Regions from separate parts of the Homo sapiens genome. Here regions 1, 2 and 4 are each linked to region 3. Evidence: promoter capture Hi-C in 16 types of primary human blood cells and fetal thymus (Javierre and others, 2016). All regions are on one chromosome and are shown on one strand. Each heading gives the region's core, a stretch centred on a gene start or on the middle of the fragment in contact. The rest is flanking DNA. Distances are from core to core; before and after follow the strand shown.

Region 1 (2,700 bases), core at 142-2,641, 630 kb after region 3:
AATATCTCAAGGCTTCTTGCCTGAAAGGATCCTAAGGCCACAACCAACAGGGGCATCTATGCAGACAGCCACCTAGGCTGGTCACTCGCTGGGGGACAGCAAGATGAAGGGATCCCTAAGAGAGGACATCAAGAGACGCCTAAGGGAGTGGGGGATGGAGAGGAAAACTCAGAGTTCTATAATAATTTGCCTTGCTTTCGTCCTTGGTTCCTGGGAGAGAGAACCTAAATCCTTGGAATTTCCCAAGTGATGTTAACATTTTTTGTTATTCATGATGAGCCCTAATAGTTTACGCTATTAAATGTGAGGACTCACGGTGGGGCTTTAGTTTCAGGATGGGTAGTTTCAGGCTGGCCATGCAAAAAGACCGACCATGTGATTAGAGGGTTGGCACTTTGAACCCAGCAGAACCGAGTTCAACAATGTAGCCAATTGTTCAACCACGACAACATAATGAAACCCCAATAAAAACTCTGGACACCAGGGCTTGGGTGACATTCCTGGCTGGTGATGCACATCCATGTGTTGGGAGGGTGACACGGTGGGCAGAGGACACGGTAGCTTCATGCTGGAGACTCTCCCAGACCTTGCCCATGCATCTCTTCTTTTAGCTGGTCCTGATTCATATCATTTTATTGCTACAGCAAAACCATAATAGTAAGCATAGCTAGTGCTTTGCTGAGTTCTGGGAGTCATTCTAGTGAATGATCAAACCTGAGGGGTTTGTGAACACTCTTGAATTCATAGCTAGTTGGTCAGAAGTACAGGTGGCTGGAAAACCCCAGAGCTTGCAGCTGGTGTCTGAAGTGAGGCAAGTCCTGTGGAATGTGCCATTAACTTGTGACATCTGGCCTAACGCTGGGTAGCTGGTGTTTGAATTACATTGCCCTGAGCCAGCAGATTTTGCTCCGCACTGGGAGAAGCTGTCTGCACCCACATGGCATGCTTTGCACAAGCACAAGCAGGAGGCCATGTTTTTGTATATCCTACCAGGCACTCTGGCTAAAAGCAGTCCAGAGAGCCAAGGAGAGCAGACCTAGAAAACATGGTGGGAGGCTGCTCTATTTGCCTGTCTTGTTTAAAACAGGTACCCCCTCCCACACTGCTCTATCCCCAGGAACCTGGGGATGGTCTCAACACCCCGTTGTGAGTTTGGTTTCTGGTGGGAACTAGCAGGTTGCCTATGATCCTATTTCTAACCCACTATGCCCTTCCACCTCCCAGACCTATCCCATCATAGCTGAAGGGTGGGGACGGTGAAATTGGTGCTCAGGAGATATTAGAATTAAAGAGGGAAGTGCATTTTAAGAGAAGGGTTTTAGATGGAACTGGCAAAGAATTAGTGGCTAATTGGATTTGGGGACTGGTGCGAGGGAGGAGTTAAGGGTGATTCCCAGGTCTCTGGTGATGCCATCTAAACTAAGGCAGGTAAGAGGACAGGAGCAACAGGCCCGGAGAGGGAGCTCCCAAGGGGAGACGATCACAGGCAGATGGATGTGAAGATAAGGAGCTCAAGGGGGAGATCAAGGTCAGAGACAGACTAGCGAGTCGTCAGCACACAGGTAGAGGCTTCCCAAGTTGGCCCAGCTCTCCCTCTGGGAGAGGGGCAGGATGCCAAGATGGAGCTCTGGGGGGCACCATGCTGGGGCCCTTCAAGGAGCCTGGAAGGAGGTCAGACAAGGAGATGCAGGAGGAGTTCATGGAATCAAAGCGAGTGAGGAGCTCAGAGTGGGCAATTCGGTTATCAAATGCAAAGACGTGTGATACGAGGATTGAGAAAGTGCTCTGTGGGCTTATTAGGTTGGGCATGCCTAGCACAGAAAAAAACCAGCTACCCAAAAGCTGCCTCCTGGAGCAGAAGAGCCAGTGCTGCCACCAGAAGGGGCACTGGGAGAGCCGGCCTCCCCCCTCTGCTGAGCACAAGCACCTCCCAGAGCTCACAGCAAACAAAATCCCTACGTGGGCAAGGAGCTGCTGCTTTTCATGGCAAGCCTTTAGTTCTTGATTTTTCATTTTGATTTTTTCTTATTCTTTTTTTAACCAGAGTCATTTGAGCAGAATAGTTCTTGATTTTTTAAATCATGTGCACATAGAACTTTGATAAAAATAGAAATTTAAGAAGCCCATTTTCTTATACTAATTACTGTATATGACTTAACACTAAATCATATCTTTTAGCTGGCTCTAATCAGTATTTCAAAATAGATGCAGTTCATTTTAGGCACATTCCAACCTCCTTTGCTGTGTAACCCATTTCTCAGGCCACACTAACCTGGGGTAAAATTCCTCTTATATTATTGTCAGTAATTAAAGATAGCCACTGGGCCAGGCACGGCGGCTCATGCCTGTAATCCCAGCACTTTAGGAGGCTGAGGCAGGTGGATCACCTGAGGTTGTGAGTTTGAGACCAGCCTGACCAACATGGAGAAACCCCATCTCTACTAAAAATACAAAATTAGCCGGGCATGGTGGCACATGCCTGTAATCCCAGCTACTCGGGAGGCTGAGGCAGGAGAATCGCTTAAACTCGGGAGGCAGAGGTTGTGGGGAGTGGAGATCACGCCATTGCACTCCAGCCTGGGCAACAAGAGTGAAATTCTGTCTCAAAAAAAAAAAAAAAAAAAAAAAAAAGATAGCCACTGTACCTAGCAAGACCTGCTGCTCAGGCAGTCCAGATCCCACTAAGAATCAGAGAAATGT
Region 2 (2,700 bases), core at 22-2,521, 900 kb before region 3:
AGGGAGAATGACTTAAAGGAAAAACGTCAGGATACGCAACCAAGTAGAGTACTAATGAATGAAAAATGTGATCAATGTTAATGAAGGTGATGTAACAATAAGACCCAAAGGAGGAGATAAAATACTGACACTAAAATAAACAGCCTTTAACTGAAAACCTAATAAAATATCTTTTCCCCACCTCATAAGATGGATCTCAAAGGTCACTGAGTGGAGATAAGAGTCAGGAAATGGCATACAGAGTGCTAGCATTTTGCACTTTTGTTAGACTCTGAACAATCATTTATGGGCTGCAGTTTGTCTGAATCTAGGTACTTTTCCGGCTCTCAGGTAGAGCAGGAGTCATTTTTCTGCACGCTGTTCTCCTACCCCAACTATCATTTCTTAACAGGGATCTCTGGGGTCCACTCTTTGAGTGTTTTGAAACAGAAAGGAAGAAATCCAACATTATCACTTTAGTTTGCATTATCAGACAGATTGCACCTTCTGCTTTCTCCATACTGTGACCCAGTGTCCAGCCTAGGGTATTCGAATGGCAAGATCTGACCTGCGCAACAGCCAAAGGGAGCCACCAGCCTCCCCTATGCCACTCACATTTTCCCACCACCAATATCTGTAAGCGGTACCAGAAATCAAAACTGAGCCTTAAATAGTCAGAGCTAGTGAGGGGGTTGTATTTCTTAGCCCTGATAACCACTTAAACGAGTAAAATTTAATTCCCCTAAGGAACCCCGCCTGAAGCAAACCCTCCCCAAGGGCACCACTGAGGGGGTAGCGCTGAAATGTTTTGGAAGATTCAGTCACCTGTTTCCAAATATTACCTAACTAGCTTCGCCTCCTTCCCTCCGAGCTCCCCTGCAGTTACTCCAGGACCCCGAAGGCCTCTTTCTGGGCACATTTGGGCCTCCCCACTCAGACAAGCCGCACTTTCTCCCTGCTCACAGGCTGCATGTCAGGGATGGTAAGTGGGGGGTGGAGAAAGTGGAGAGGCCGGGGTTCAACCCAGCAGACTCCTGCAGACCGGGCCTCGGTCGGAGACGCGAGCCCCTAGCCTAGCTAGGTTCCTTCGTCGACCTTGAGAAAGGGGCGCGGATCCGTGTCCCGCAGAGGACACGGGGTCTCGGAGCCCGCACAGGCTGAGGGGCAGGGGTCCGGCCGAGCCGGGCCGCCTCACCTGCACTTCTGTCGGCCCACAGGATTAATGGCAGCACCAGCCCGAGTACAAGCCCCGGCGCGACCATGCTTGCAAGGATCTGACCGCCGCCTAGGACTGGGAAAGTGGGTTCCCGGCAGGGGCGGGGCCTGGGCGGGGGCGAGGCCGACTCCACCCTTTTGCAGTCCTCGCAGCCTCCCGCGACCTCAGGACTGGGCTGTACTCGCCCCTTCTCGGCCGCCGTAGTTTTTTTTTTTTTTTAAAGAAAAAACGGTTACCCAGCAACTAGAAAAACAACCGGAACCGGCGGCACCAGCTCGGAGAGAAAGGAGGTGAGGCCGCTTCCCCACTTCCTCTCCGATACCAAGACCTAGCCTTTTCCCTTCGTCTCTCTTATTCTCTCAGCATCCCAGACACAGCCTCGGAGCCCTGGGCCGTTTGGGAGCCGAGGCAGCCCATTCTGCGCGAGTCTGAAATCCCAGGTCCTCAACATCCCGCCCCCGACTAGACCCGTCTGCCCCCTCCGCCCGCCCTCCTCTGCCCACATTGGTTCAGAATCTCGCCAGCTCTTTTCACCACTCTAGAATGGTTCGATACCCCCATCTACTGCTCCCTCAGAAAAAGCAAAAGAGAGGAGTCAGGCGTGGTGGCGCGCGCCTGTAATCCCAATTGCTCGGGAGGCTGAGGCGGGATCATCGCTGGAGCCCAGGAGTTCGAGGCCAGAGACCCCCTCTCAAAGAAAAAAAAAGCGATGAAACGAGAACCCTCCATAGTCTGAGCCTCATTAAACCGTCCAGTTCTCCCAACCTGGACCCCTACCACGGCCTCCGCCTCTATTCCGCATTGACGCACACTCTCACATTAACAGGCCAGGTCCCGGAGGATTCTTTTCATACTCAGTAGTAGCTCAGCCCGCTGCTTAGCAGCTACCCTTAATCTAGCCCTTGTATTTCAAGACAGAAAGAGACAACCTGATCAAGAAGAAACCGAAAAATATAAGAATTCTAAAACTTTAGAGGCTGGGATTTCAAAATCATGACACACAGCCCCATCCCATCCCATCCCTCCCTCACACACACGCACGCACAACCCCATTCCACAGTACGAAGGTGTTCGAAGCATTGTGGGTCATGCTTCAGAAGTGGCAGCAAGGGGAAAGATTGTGCAACTTCTTCATTCAACAAATTAATTTCTAGAACCAGGACTAATTTCTACTCTTTAAAAAAAAATAGACCTCAAAGAAGGTCTTCTCAGCAATTGACAATGAATTTAACTTTTTAGCAATCATTCTCTCTAAATTCCTGTGTGATAGCAAAAATTACCCTTACCTTTTGAGCATATAAAGGGTAAAGAGAGAAAAAGTCATATTGAAAATTATGGGTTTTTTGCAGGATTTTAAATGATTTGGCCTAGTGAATGGGTCTGTGTTTGTATTATACTAATTCACAATGGAGATTTCAAAACTCTTTGGAAGAAATGGATGGGCTTGGGTTGTGTTAGGGAAAAAAGAATTCAAGTCCAGATGTATGAGTCTCAGAAATAATTTG
Region 3 (2,700 bases), core at 82-2,581:
TTGGTGGCAGGTGCCTGTAGTCCCAGCTACTCAGGAGGCTGAGGCAGGAGAATGGCGTGAACCCAGGGGGCGGAGCTTGCAGTGAGCCGAGATCGCACCACTGCACTCCAGCCTGGGAGACAAAGACAGACTCAGTCTCAAAAAAAAAAAAAAAAAAAGATTTCCTCCCATGAAGTAAGCCAGAATAAACTCATACCTACTAAATTCTTTCTAAAATCTTTTCTAAATTGACACTCTTGAGAAAGAATAGAGCTTGGAGGAAGAGCTATTATTATAATTAATAGCACAATAATCAGTTTGTCATTAAACCACTTAGGTCTCTTTGTAACAAGATTTCTAAGCTTTAGTAGATGGATTCCTTATTCTATTCTATTTTATATTGTTTTGTTTTGTTTTATTTTATTTTATTTTTCGAGACAGTCTAGCTGTGTCACCCAGGCTGAAGTGCAGTAGTGCGATCTCGGCTCACCGCAACCTCTGCCTCCTGAATTGAAGTGATTCTCATTCCTTAGCCGACCAAGTAGCTGGGACCACAGGTGTGTGCCACCATGCCCAGCTAATTTTTTGTATTTTTAGTAGAGACGGGATTTCACCATCTTGGCCAGGGTGGCCTCAAGTGATCTGCCCGCCTCAGCTTCCCAAAGTGCTGAGGTTACACGCATGAGCCACCGTGCCCAGCCACTTATTTTATTTCATTTTTTAAATTTATTATTATTATTATTATTTTGAGACTGAGTCTTGCTCAGTCGCCCAGGCAGGAGTGCAGTGGTGTGATCTCGGCTCACTGCAACCTTCATCCCCTGAGTTCAAGTAATTCTCCTGCCTCAGCCTCCTGAGTAGCTGGGACCACAGGCAGGTACCACCACACCTGGCTAATTTTTGTTATTTTAGTAGAGATGGGGTTTCGCTATGTTGGCCAGGCTGGTCTTGAACTCCTGACCTCGTGATCTGCCTGCCTTGGCCTCCCAAAATGCTGGGATTAAAGGCATCCTGTTACTAATTTCACAGGATTTTAGAAACGCAAGCAGCGTTGTGGAGTCAATGGGGGAGGGCAAAGAACAGGAGGAGAGATCTGTGAGAACGGGATCGGCGAGGAGGCGACGGGGAGGAGGCGACGCGGAGGGGTGAGGGGTCCTCTCCGCCGCCAGGCGGAGTTGGGAGCCGGACGATCCCGCACGCAGCGCGAGGCGGGACCCCGGACTGACTACATTTCCCAGTCTCCGTCGCTCCGCGCGGCCCACCCCTTCGGCTCTGGGCCCCGCCTCGTGGTGCCGGCTGGTTCTTCGCGCTCGCCCGACTTCCCAGCGGCCCCGTGCGGCCCGGGCATGCCCAGTGCGGGCGCAGCGGCCCCGGCCCTGGAAGCGCCCCGGCGGAGCTGGCCTGCGGTGGGCTAGGGGCAGGGCCGGAGCCGCGGCGGCGGAGCTGTGGGTAGGTGCGGGCTCAGCCGAGCTAGGCCTCGGGGCCGCCGCGCCGCCCATTCTGAGTGGCAGGGACCGGGAGGGCAGGCAGGGCCCGAGCGTGGGTTGGTGGGGCTACCGGCGAGGACCCCTTATGGGAAGGGGCCGGAGGGAGCGGGACGGGGCCGGGCACATCCCCGGGCGAGGCTGCCCCAGGTGCGGCGCAGCTATCTTTAGCTCCCTGTGTGACCCGGAGCGTGCGTGATCCGCACCTCGCGTGATCCGTACCTCGTGCACAGTTGTGCCTAGGGAGACCAGTTTTCTGCCGAATTGCCTAGGAGCTGTGGGGAGATGGGCCTGAATGGACCCGTGGACTCAGAGGCAGCCCGTGGAGCCCCGTGGGAAGTGAGGATGTTTACCTTCCCTGTACCTGGAGTGGGCTACGACAGCTTCCTGTTTGCCGAGACTTGGGTTTAGTGACTTAGAAATAAAAGTGTGTCTCAGCAGATGCTTATTAGCTTCTAATGACTGTTGGGAATTTAATGGCATTTGTATTTCCAGGTTTGAGAGGTTATTTGTCCATGGGATGCTCGTGTTAAAACAAAAATCTTCATTGCAAAGCTTAAGTAAAAACAAGTCTCGACCGAGGTAACGTTAGAACACCGGGTTCTGAGGTTCACTGTAGCTGCCATTCATTTGCTGTCAGTCTGGGCAAGTCATTTAACTTCTGAGACTGGGTTCTCTCACCTGTTAAATGAGCCAGATGCATCTTCATCTGTCTAGCTCAGCTGTAGGATTCCCCCTGTGTCATTCAGTCTGTGTGTGTGTTCTCAAATTGTGGCAGGTTATTTTTCCCCATGCCTCAGCTATTTGTCAGACTGGGTAATTCACCAAATATTCCTGTAGGAAGGATGTTAGGATCTAAGTATAAAAGTGAAGTGATTTATCCTTCATAGGTCACTCTTAGGAGGTGTCCTGCCACTTGGTACATGCAGAAACCAGGTGTTAGCTGGCCAGGGATCAAATGACACAGCTGTTGTGGACTGAGACAGAATGTTTCAGGTTCCCTGTCAGTTCCCTGTGAGAAATCCAGGCCAAGTAATGGGCTTCCTTAAACCTCCAAGCTGGCTCACTTTGGTGGGGTTGTGTTTATATAGAATTTTAAGTTTTTTTCATGCTGTTGTGCCCTATTAGATGCAAGAAACCTATGAAGAAGTTTAGTACCCTTAATTTATAGATGAGCCAGTGGCAGGTTACGGGAGTGGATCTGTGAGTCTTTACAAACTAGTGTCGTGCATATCAC
Region 4 (2,700 bases), core at 172-2,671, 650 kb after region 3:
ACCTGGAGAAAACCCACACAGACATGGGGAGCATGCCAACTCCACACAAACGGGTAGCCTCAGCCAGGAATCACTTATTCTCTCATCAATGTTATGAAAAAACGATGTTGAACAAAAAGACTTTTTTTGAGAGTCTGCTGTATCTTCTTGTTGCTAAATAGTTGGTTTGTTATTCTTTCTTGGTTTTCCCCTCATGTTTGGCCTGTTGATTTCTTGTTGTGATAGATTTGTATTTAGCTCTTGCATCCCACCACTTTCCTATTTTTCCATGCCCTCTATCCCCTAATATAGTTCTATTGTAATTTTTTGCTAAAACAGGTAGCTTTTATGTACTTACACCTCTGTCAAATACTGTTCACTGTTGAGCTGGATGATCTATTACAGTGTGTTCCTCCTGGTGTGTAGGTTGGCCTTCACCTGTGTTTTTCATGTACCTACTGTTAATTTTTTTCCCACATGCTCCAATGTATTTGTCACATTCTTATCAGTAACATTTTCTGTGAGCTCAAATGTATCACCTGTTTATTGGAGCCCTGCCCCCTCCTCCTGCCTTTACTGTTGCTCTCAAGAACTGCTGCCTGGGGTCCTCCTGGACCTGCCCTTTCCTGTGCAGGAACCGTATCTTCCTCTTTCTGGGCTTATGTCTTTATTTTTTAAAAGCATATACTTCAGTTATTTCTAAGAAGTATTTGAATGACCTGGTTTTGCCCACACACTTGTTTGATAGTTTGGCAGTTATATAATTCTAGATTGGAAATAAGGTTCTCTCAGAATGTTGAAGGCATCTGTAATTGCTCTAGAGATGTGGTGATTTAAATCCTTCTTACGTGACCGTATTTTGTTTGTTTTCTCCCCTTCTGGAAGCTTTGAGGATATTCTCTATCTCTGGTGTTCTGCAGTTTTATGATGTGTATTAACACCAGGGTATGGGTCTTTTACTCAGCTGTTGTGCTGGCTTCTCACAGACGGTTTTGATTCTGGAAATTCACGTCCTCTAGTTCCGGGATGTTTTCTTGTACTATTTCTGTGATTTTTTGCTCAATCTTTAATTTTTCTTTGATACCTTTTTGTAATATCCATTCTTGTTATGTGGATATGGTGGGCTCAGAGGGCCCGCTGGAGTATTTGAGTTTTCTTCCTCTCTGCACAGGCTCCACTTCCTTCAGGTGATGTGGGCCTTTGCACCTGTGCCTCTGTCTGGATGTGTCTTCCCTCAGATATCCAGCGACTTGCTCCCACACCTCACTTTGGATGAATCCACAAGTCTTTCCTTAAATGTCACCTCAGTGAAGAGAGCACTGGATTGAGAAGTGCAGACCCCCATCTCACTTCCCTGCTTTGTTTCTCTCCAGAAGCATTTCCCACCATCTAGCATCCCACATATTTATTTACTTGTTTCCCTCACCACTAAAATAAACATTCTATGAGGGCAGGGATTTTGGGTTTTTTTTTGTTTACCTCTATAATTCCAGCCTCTGAAACAGTGCCTGGCGATGAATAGATGCTTAATAACTTAAGGAATAAATGAATTATTTTATTGTGGGATTTCTTTGAATGTCTCATGATTCTGACTGTTCATTTCTGTTTTGTTTTTTGTTATTTTAAGTTCCCAGCGTGGGTCTTGTTGGGTGGTGGCCATTACTATAGGGTGGCTGGTATATATGGATTTTGTGTGTATGTTTGTACAAATGTATATGTTTGCTAATATTTCTTTAGCTGACAGTGCATTGGTTGCTGGGACAAGGATGGAGGCTTGGAGAACCTTTTAGTATGCATCTTTTGACATAATCTGTATTTTCAGTTCTTCATTGCTCCTGCTGATGTATTTTACTCCAGACCCATTTCAGATTTCGGTTCATTTTTCTTTAAACCTCTGGATTTGGGGGTGGAGAAAATAGATGAAAATAGGAGGTGAGGAAGAGAATTTGCGCATTAGTTAAATAGACTTTATGCCAATCCGTATTTTCAGATCTGCATTTAAAGCTTGCTTTCCATCTCCAAAAATTCATTGAAAAATTGAATGCTTATCTCCTGCACCTCACATTCTTGGTTTTATACCTTGAAAAAAGAAAAACTCCTCTGTTGCCATTTTAATAGCGTACTTTGAAAAAGATTAAGAAGTAAACACGTAAGGACAGAAGTTATCATGTTTTATATTCTTAGTGTCATGGAATGCAGCACAGGAATATCACATAAGGAAAAGCACAGATTTCTTGTTTTCCTCGTTTATTTTGGAAGCTTATCCTTCAGCTCTTGTTTATCTTTTTTTTTTTTTTTTTTTTTTTTTTTTTTTTTTTTTTTTGAGAGTCTCTCTCTGTTGCCCAGACTGGAGTGGGCATGATCATGACTCACTGCAGCCTCGACCTCCTGGGTTCAAGCAATCCTCCCACCTCAGCCTCCCAAGTAGCTGGGACCATAGGCATATGCCACCACATCTGGCTAAGTTTTTTATTTTTGTAGAGACAGGGTCTCCCTATTGTTTATATGCCTTAAGAGTCAAATTAACAGAGTACATAAGAAACACTCTCTTTTTAGCTCTCTTGCTAAGGAGCAGGTTTGAGATCTGTTGCCAGAACTTAGTACTTCGCAGTTTTATGGATTCCTCAGGAGTCTCGTCCATGGGGCTGGGGCGTGGCTACCCTCTGCTGACTCTTCCTAGGTTCCTGCTCTTCCCCAGCACCTCCCTACCCCCAGCCACTA

The links. Contacts are between HindIII fragments. The CHiCAGO score rates a contact against its expected background, and 5 or more counts as called.
Region 1: a contact is called between a fragment that was not itself captured here and the fragment with the promoter of EI24 in region 3, in 2 of 17 cell types (naive CD8 T cells and total CD8 T cells). The highest score is 5.4, in naive CD8 T cells.
Region 2: the fragment with the promoter of SIAE here is called in contact with the fragment with the promoter of EI24 in region 3 in 2 of 17 cell types (non-activated CD4 T cells and naive CD8 T cells); the score reaches 6.5 in non-activated CD4 T cells.
Region 4: a fragment that was not itself captured here is called in contact with the fragment with the promoter of EI24 in region 3 in 2 of 17 cell types (activated CD4 T cells and total B cells); the score reaches 6.2 in activated CD4 T cells.

What each region holds. Positions count from the first base shown.
Region 1 is chr11:126,196,917-126,199,616 of GRCh38, forward strand. No RefSeq gene overlaps it. Among named protein-coding and RNA genes, the nearest start is that of RPUSD4, 13 kb to the right of the region's middle. The HindIII fragment of the contact is 5,671 bases long and covers 1-2,700 here.
Region 2 is chr11:124,672,468-124,675,167 of GRCh38, forward strand. SIAE (sialic acid acetylesterase) reads right to left here and starts at 1,272. Exons shown (of 10, transcript NM_170601.5): 1 at 1,175-1,272. The coding sequence starts at 1,241. It overlaps SPA17 (sperm autoantigenic protein 17), which reads left to right and starts at 1,437. Exons shown (of 5, transcript NM_017425.4): 1 at 1,437-1,485. RefSeq lists silencers at 1,208-1,327, 1,300-1,458 and an enhancer at 1,368-1,547. The HindIII fragment of the contact is 8,074 bases long and covers 1-2,700 here.
Region 3 is chr11:125,568,146-125,570,845 of GRCh38, forward strand. EI24 (EI24 autophagy associated transmembrane protein) reads left to right here and starts at 1,332. Exons shown (of 11, transcript NM_004879.5): 1 at 1,332-1,428. STT3A-AS1 (STT3A antisense RNA 1) reads right to left here. Exons shown (of 4, transcript NR_132372.1): 3 at 2,145-2,297. RefSeq lists enhancers at 996-1,497, 2,000-2,049 and a silencer at 1,000-1,559. The HindIII fragment of the contact is 1,677 bases long and covers 340-2,016 here.
Region 4 is chr11:126,217,088-126,219,787 of GRCh38, forward strand. All of the region lies in intron 1 of FAM118B (family with sequence similarity 118 member B), which reads left to right. Among named protein-coding and RNA genes, the nearest start is that of FAM118B, 6.7 kb to the left of the region's middle. The HindIII fragment of the contact is 1,119 bases long and covers 863-1,981 here.